Regions from separate parts of the Homo sapiens genome. Here region 1 is linked to region 2. The links are contacts of gene promoters, found by promoter capture Hi-C in human tissues and cell types (Jung and others, 2019). All regions are on one chromosome and are shown on one strand. The core of a region is centred on a gene start or on the middle of the fragment in contact, and the rest is flanking DNA. Distances in the headings are between cores, read along the strand shown. Region 1 has its middle 4.2 kb from the start of PEBP4. Region 2 holds the start of EGR3 (early growth response 3).

The links. Contacts are between HindIII fragments. The study calls those that stand out against the background at their distance.
Region 1: a fragment that was not itself captured here is called in contact with the fragment with the promoter of EGR3 in region 2 in 2 of the 25 tissues and cell types used here (heart left ventricle and liver).

Annotation. Positions count from the first base shown.
Region 1 is chr8:22,930,442-22,933,879 of GRCh38, reverse strand. It overlaps a transcript of PEBP4 not described here. Among named protein-coding and RNA genes, the nearest start is that of PEBP4, 4.2 kb to the right of the region's middle. The HindIII fragment of the contact is 4,297 bases long and covers 1-3,399 here.
Region 2 is chr8:22,691,983-22,695,314 of GRCh38, reverse strand. EGR3 (early growth response 3) reads left to right here and starts at 1,835. Exons shown (of 2, transcript NM_004430.3): 1 at 1,835-2,524. The coding sequence starts at 2,371. LOC105379321 (a long non-coding RNA gene) reads right to left here and starts at 458. Exons shown (of 3, transcript XR_001745832.2): 1 at 101-458. RefSeq lists silencers at 1-413, 544-763, 1,646-1,809, 1,754-1,873, 2,736-2,805 and 1 more and enhancers at 874-973, 1,014-1,123, 956-1,601. The HindIII fragment of the contact is 10,174 bases long and covers 1-3,332 here.

The sequences.
Region 1 (3,438 bases), core at 2-2,501, 240 kb before region 2:
TTATCAATTATCCAGCCTCAGGTATTCATTTATAACAGCACTAAATGGACTAAGACATCCTGTATTTAAAAGTGGAATTACAAACCAAAATTCCAACAATACTGGCTTTTTAATTTGCTGTGTGTTTACCTCAAACAAAGATCTTGATATATTTCTTCACCTAGTTTCAGCTTACTGTCATCTTTTCATTTCAACCTGAAGATCTACTTTCAGCATTTCTTGCAGGGCAGTGCTGGTGGTAATCAACTCCCTAAGCTTTTGTTTATCTGGGACTTTCTTAATTTCTCTCTTACTAATATTTTGGAAGATACTTTTGCTGGACATAGAATTCTTAATTGACAACTTTTCTTCTTTCAGTACTTTATATCATCCCAATGCCCCCTGGGCTTCAAAGTTTCTGCTGATAAATTGGCTGATAATTTTATTGAGGATCCCTATACATGATGAGTCTTCTCTCTTATTGCTTTCAAAATTCTCTCTTTGTCTTTGGCTTCCAACAGTTTGATTCTAATATGTCTCAGCGTAGGTCTCTTTGAGTTTATTTTACTTGAAATTCCTTGAGCTTCTTGGGGCTTTAGATGGTCTGTTGTATGTCTCAACTGTAATCTTTGTCTTCAGTGTCTGAAGGTCTGTAGTCGGTCTGCTGGTTTCATAAGCAATGCTTCCCCTTTTCCCTTAGGCAAAGCAGAGACTACTCCTGCAAGTGGACCCCAGACAGATTAGAGCATTGCACATGATGGGTCTGGCTCTCCTTCTTTGAGTTTAAGGAAGAGCTGGGGCTTGAGCTACTATCTCCTCCAGACCAATACTGCTGGCAGTGGAGGTGGAACAAGGTAGAAAGAAAATGAAATTTCCAACCTTTTTTTTTTTTTTTGGAGACGGAGTCTTGCTCTGTTGCCCAGGCTAGAGTGCAGTAGTACGATCTTGGCTCACTGCAATCTCCGCCTCCTGGGTTCAAGTGATTCTTCTGCCTTAGCCTCCCAAATAGCTGGGATTACAGGTGCCTGTCACCATGCCTGGCTAATTTTTGTATTTTTAGTAGAGATGGGGTTTCACCATGTTGGACAGGCTGGTCTTGAACTCCTGACCTCAGATGATCTGCCCATCTCAGCTTCCCAAAGTACTGGGATTACAGGCATGAGCCACCGTGTCTGGAAAAATTCCTATTATTTTGAAGGAGGCTTTTAAAAATTTTTTGAGACAGGGTCTCCTTCTCTCACCCAGGGTGCAGTTAAGGAGGCTTTCCTTGATTAGGCATTTACTTGGCTGCTCTAACCTTTGGCTGTTTTCCAGAGCTTCTATAAAGTTAGTTCATCCAATTCTCTGTCTCTCTGGGGGTGTGTGTGTGTGTGTATATGTGTGTTTAGCTTTCCATGAGGGAACAAGAGCTTGGAGCTTCCTAATCATCCATTTTGCTGACATCCCCAGGATGACTTTTTTTAAACAGCTTTATTGCTATATGCTCCACTTATCTCACAATTCATAAATTTTGAAGTGTATAATTCAGTGGTTTTTAGTATATGTATAGATATGTGCAACCATCACATAGGCAATTTCAGAACATTTTCATCACCTTTAAAAGAAACCTCATACCCTTTAGCTATCATCCCCATACCTCTCATTCACGTCTTATCCCACCTCCACCTCCAGCCTTAGCAACCACTAGTCTACTTTCTGTCCCTGTGTATTTGCCTATTCTGGACATTTCATATAAATGGAATCATACAATATGTCCTCTTTTGCGACTGGCTGCTTTCACTTAGCACAGTGTTTTCCCCCATGGCTCCTGGGCCCCACCCTGGGCTCTGTAGAAGGCACAGGATACTGAGAGTAGAGTGGGAGCAGGATTGCATGACGGAGTAGCCAGATTACTGGACTGTTCCAAATTTGAAGTTGCATCCAACAGCTGCAATGCGAAGATAAGGGCGAAGAAATTGAAGATGTTAGCAAGTGAATAGTACAAAGGTTTGTAAGACCCAGGTACCAGAGGGAAGGTAGTCAGAATAGGTAAGGAAAAAGGAGAGTGGTCGAGGGACCAGAGTTTAGAATCAAATGAAAGACTAAGTGCAGAGAAGTAACAAGAGGGTAGAGGAAGGAGAAGAGATGGTGATCAGAAGAGCTGCTTGAAATTAGCTGGGCATAGTGGTGCGTGCCTGTAATCCCAGCTACTTGGAAGGCTGAGGCAGGAGAATCACTTGAACCTAGGAGGCGGAGGCAGCAGTGAGCTGAGATCATGCCACTGCATTCCAGCCCCGGTGACAGCGAGACTCCACCTAAAAACAAAAACAAAAACAAACAAAAAAAACTGCTTGAATTTAATATTTTAGGGATGGAGCAATTTGTAGTGATGAAAATGTCCAAGAAAGTGGTCATGGGAAGGGAGGCTGGAAAAGAGGGAGGGGAAAATGTTGGTAGAGGCATCCAAAATAGGCAAATTCATAGAGACGGAAAATAGATTAGGGTTGTCAGGGGCTGGGGGTAGGGAGGAATGGGGTGTTACTGCTAATAAGTACAGGACTTCTTTTAGGTTGATGAAAATGCTCTGTACTTTGGTAGTGATGGTTGCACAAGCTTGTGAACATACGAAAACTCACTGGATTATATATATTAAAAGGGTGAATTTTATGTGTGAATTATATCTCAATTAATTTTTAATTAGGAATCAATGAAAAGAATTCAGGGGAATTTGTTCACTACAGTTCAGAGATTCCAGAGGGCCTATGTGGAAAGGTTTAGGAGGGAGAGAAATAACAAGAGTCTGTGTCTGGGTAGAGAAATGAAGTGAGGCCTAGGCAGTGATTGGAGGGTGTCAGGCACAGGAGGCCTGGAGGGATAAGAAGGGAGTGAAGAGTTTCAGCAGCAGTGGTCCAACAGATCCCAGTAGCTGGAGGGACCAATGTGTCTCAGGAAGCCACAGGTTTGGCTTGAATGGTGGTGTCTGGAGGTGGTCCCAGCCCAGGTAACTGAAGGAAGAGAGGGGGACTTCAAGGGTGGGCACCAAGAAATCTAGCAATGGGACTTTCCAGGAGCCGGGGTGGTGATGGGGAGGGAGAATTGTCACTCCGCAAGCTTGAACACGGCTTTCAGATCTTAGGTTTCAAGTATGAATCAAAGTCCTGAAAATCCCCAAGAGAAAGATCAGGTTTGAAAAATCCCGAGAACCACTGCATTCTGCCAGATCTCTCTGCACAAAAACAAGCCAGAGAAGGTTAGATAAATAAGCAAAAGGCATCCAGGGCTAAGGGCCAACCTGAGTGATTAGTTTCCTACTGATGTTTGTACAGAGTTAAGACCTGTTAAGTGAAAATGAGGATGATCAGAAACGGAAGTGGCGTGTGTCATGCACTTAAACAAGAATTTTATTAAGCTTCTATATACTCCATGTAAGATGCTCAGAATGCTGGACAGTCTCCGTGCTGCCTCCGAGAAGCTTATAGG
Region 2 (3,332 bases), core at 586-3,085:
TAGCCCGGCTCACACCGCCGCCCACGCCCCCCGACCGGCCGCGCGCCCCCCCTAAGGGAGGGAGCCGGGGGCGGGAGGCGCAGCCTGCCCTGATTCTGACCGGAGCGCGGGACCGCTGCAGCGCTCTCCCTCCCTGAGCCGCGCTGGCGGAGGACAGCCCGGGGGGCGCTGTGGCTCCCTAGTATAGGAGTGGGGAGCCTGGCGGGAGAGGCGGCGGGGGTGGAGAGAGGGGGCTCGCGGGAGGCGGGAATCCCTCCTTTCCTAAGAACTGGAGAAGATGGGGGGAGGCCGGGCCCTCCGGTCCCCAGCCCTCCACTGAGTGGAGGGGAGGGGAGGGGAGCGAGGTTGTCATCCACCTCCACCACAACGTGCAGCTCGGGAGTTCCTCCCACACGTCCCCGGCCCGCGTGGCCCTCCCACGGCGTGAGGCCCGGGGATCCTCTCTTCTTCCTTGTCAACACTCCCACTCCCCCCGAGAAATGCACGTTCCCCCAACCCCGACTCCCCAGGAGGGGACGAGGGATTCACCGCGCCCACGCGGCCACCGAGGAGGGAATCCTCCCCCGCCAAGCCGATGTGATTTGGGGTCGCACCCCCATGCTCCCGCCCTCTCCTCCCCCTCGCCCGCGGGCCGGCTGCGCGCGCCTCGGGAGCAGGCCCCAGGGAGCACAGCAGCCGCCCCCGGGATCTGCTGCCGCTCCGGGAGGTGAAAGCGCTCCGGGTCGGCACACAGGCCGCCCTTGACTGCGGAGCGCCGGCAGGCAGCAATGGGGACAGCCCTGTGGAAGGCGAGGGGGAGGGCAGAGACTAGGGGAGGCCCCCAGTGGCTCAGAGACTGTGGGTTCGGCGTCCTCCTTCTGGAACTCTGGCGGGCCCTTCGCAGGCAGCAGTAGACAGCGACTGCGCCCGGGCCTGCTGGGCCCTCCTGCCATCCTGTGGCCACAGAGGCTGCTTGGAACCGTTAGGGAATTTACTGGGGATTCAGTGCACGTGTTTATCTATCCCTTCAACTTCATTCTTTCCTCTTCACCACGAAAACCGCACATCCTCGACCCCATATGGATGGGGCTCTTGTCTTTGGCGCAACTGCTGGGGTGCTCCGAATCTCCTCGCCACTGCGCTCAGCCTAGAGTCAGCGCCGGGTCAGGGGCCCAGGGAGGGGCAGGGGCGGCGAATCAGAGTGAAGTTGGCACAAAAGTTCTTGGGATATTGGACCAAGGAATTCTGACAAGTTGAAACACCCCCCCAACCCTGCGCGCACCCCTCCTTCCCCCCACAAAGGGAAGCACTCCCTTTCTCTTAATCTCGGATAGGATCCCGAACGCTGGAGCCGCTGAGGTAGCAGGGGCGCAACGCACGCCTTCCGGGTTCCCCAGCAGTTCCCGGGCTGCAAAGGGATTTCGCCAGATGTTTTCAACTCTCTTTCTAACTGCTGGGGTGTTGGAGACCACTTGCAAACAACCCCACCCCACCGCCCACCTCTCCCCAATGCGCTCTCCTAACGCAAACCTCAAATAAACACACACAATGAGTTACTGGTGTTTCGACTCCACGCTACGCGCTTTGCGCTTTGCATGCAGCTGTATCCTTCTTTCCTCTCTCTTCTCGCATTCTTCTTGTTTCTTCTCCCCTTCTCTTTTTTTCAAGAGCCGCGAGCGGTGCGGGCGCCGCACGTTGGCTGCGGCCCGCTTCCTGCTTTCTAATGTTCCATTGTGAGGAGCTTCCATTGTGACGTCGCGCCCCTTCGGCTGGGCTTTGTCTGTCCATATATGGGCAGCTACGTCACGGAGCTTTCCCGGGGCTCAGATAAATAGGCTGGTGGAGTTCCCTGGCTGGGAGCTTTTGGGCAGCAGTGAGCTTGCTAGGAAGCGGCGGGGCTGGTGGTGGTGGTAGCAGCGGCGGCAGCGGCGGCAGAGGCGGCGGCGGCGGCGGCGGCGGCGGCGGCGGTGGCGGTGGCGGTGGCGGTGGCAGATCGGGGGGCGGGGGGGCGGCGGGCGCGTGTCTGTTTGTGAGATCAATACTGAGGCCGCGTCCGACCCCCTTGAGCCGAGATCCCCCCCCAGCCCAGCCCCCACCCCACCCCCCGCACACGCCCCACCCCCCCCACGACCCAGCCTCATACCGCACCAGCTGAGGCACCCAAGAGGATTACCCCCTGGGGCCCTCTCCCGCCCCCCAAAAAAGAGAAGATCCCCTCTCCTGGCCCATCCCTTCCCTTCTTCCCTCCCCCCTCCCCCCGAACTTTCCCTCTCGCATGCTTTTCCCCTGCACCACGGATCGCCTCTCGGATGCCGCTTGCCTGGAAGCTGCGTTAGGAGCGAGCGGCGGCGGTGGCGGCGGTGGCGGCGGCGGCGGCAGCTCGGGAGTGCTATGACCGGCAAACTCGCCGAGAAGCTGCCGGTGACCATGAGCAGTTTGCTAAACCAACTGCCTGACAATCTGTACCCCGAGGAGATCCCCAGCGCGCTCAACCTCTTCTCCGGCAGCAGCGACTCGGTAGTCCATTACAATCAGATGGCTACAGGTAAGGGCGGCGGGGAGGCGGCGAGGCAGCGAGGAAGGAAGGGGAGAGGAAGAGGAGGAGGGGACGACCTGGTGATGGATGGATGGATGGATGGATGGATGGATGGATGGATGGGTGGATGGGTGGATAGATAAATGGATGGAGAGATGGGGGCGCGCTGGGAATTTTGCGGGGGGCGAGTTGCTTTTCCCACCCACTCCTCCCGCCCTCCTCGATCGAGAAGGCTAGGTTGGCGACGCCACGGTAGAGGCTTCGGTTCTCCCGGGTGGGGGCAGCCGCCGACCGGAGGGAGGTAGGTGCGAGCGGCTCTGGGGTTCTCCCTCACCACGCAGGGGGCCCGATCGCCGGGCTACGCGCAAGGCGTGGTGCTGTCGCCCTCTTCCCGGGAGGAGCCCGGCGTCTTTTTCACCCGCGCTCTCCCCCCTTACTCCCTCAGCCTCCCACCCGGGATGGAGCCATGTGCGGCGTGGAGTCCCCGCGGTGGGAGAGGTACTGCGACGCTGCCTTTCCGGGGCGTTCAGCAAAGCCGTGGGGGTGTGGGGACGGCGGGGAGAAGGAGGGGGTTCACCCGCGGGGCGAGGGCCTGCCACGGGGAACGATCCCGGGGCCGGGGAGCTGGGGAAGGGCGGCCTCTCCCGCCATGGAGACACCGGCCGGTTTTCCGCCGCTCTCCACCCTCCCTAGCTGGGGCTAGGATTTTCCCCTCCAGCAAGAGCCTAAAGCTCCTTCATGCCCGAGGAGGCTGGGGCCGGGGTAGGTGAAGGGAGAGCTCCCTTTGAGGGCGACACCCTTCTACGCTCCGAGGACA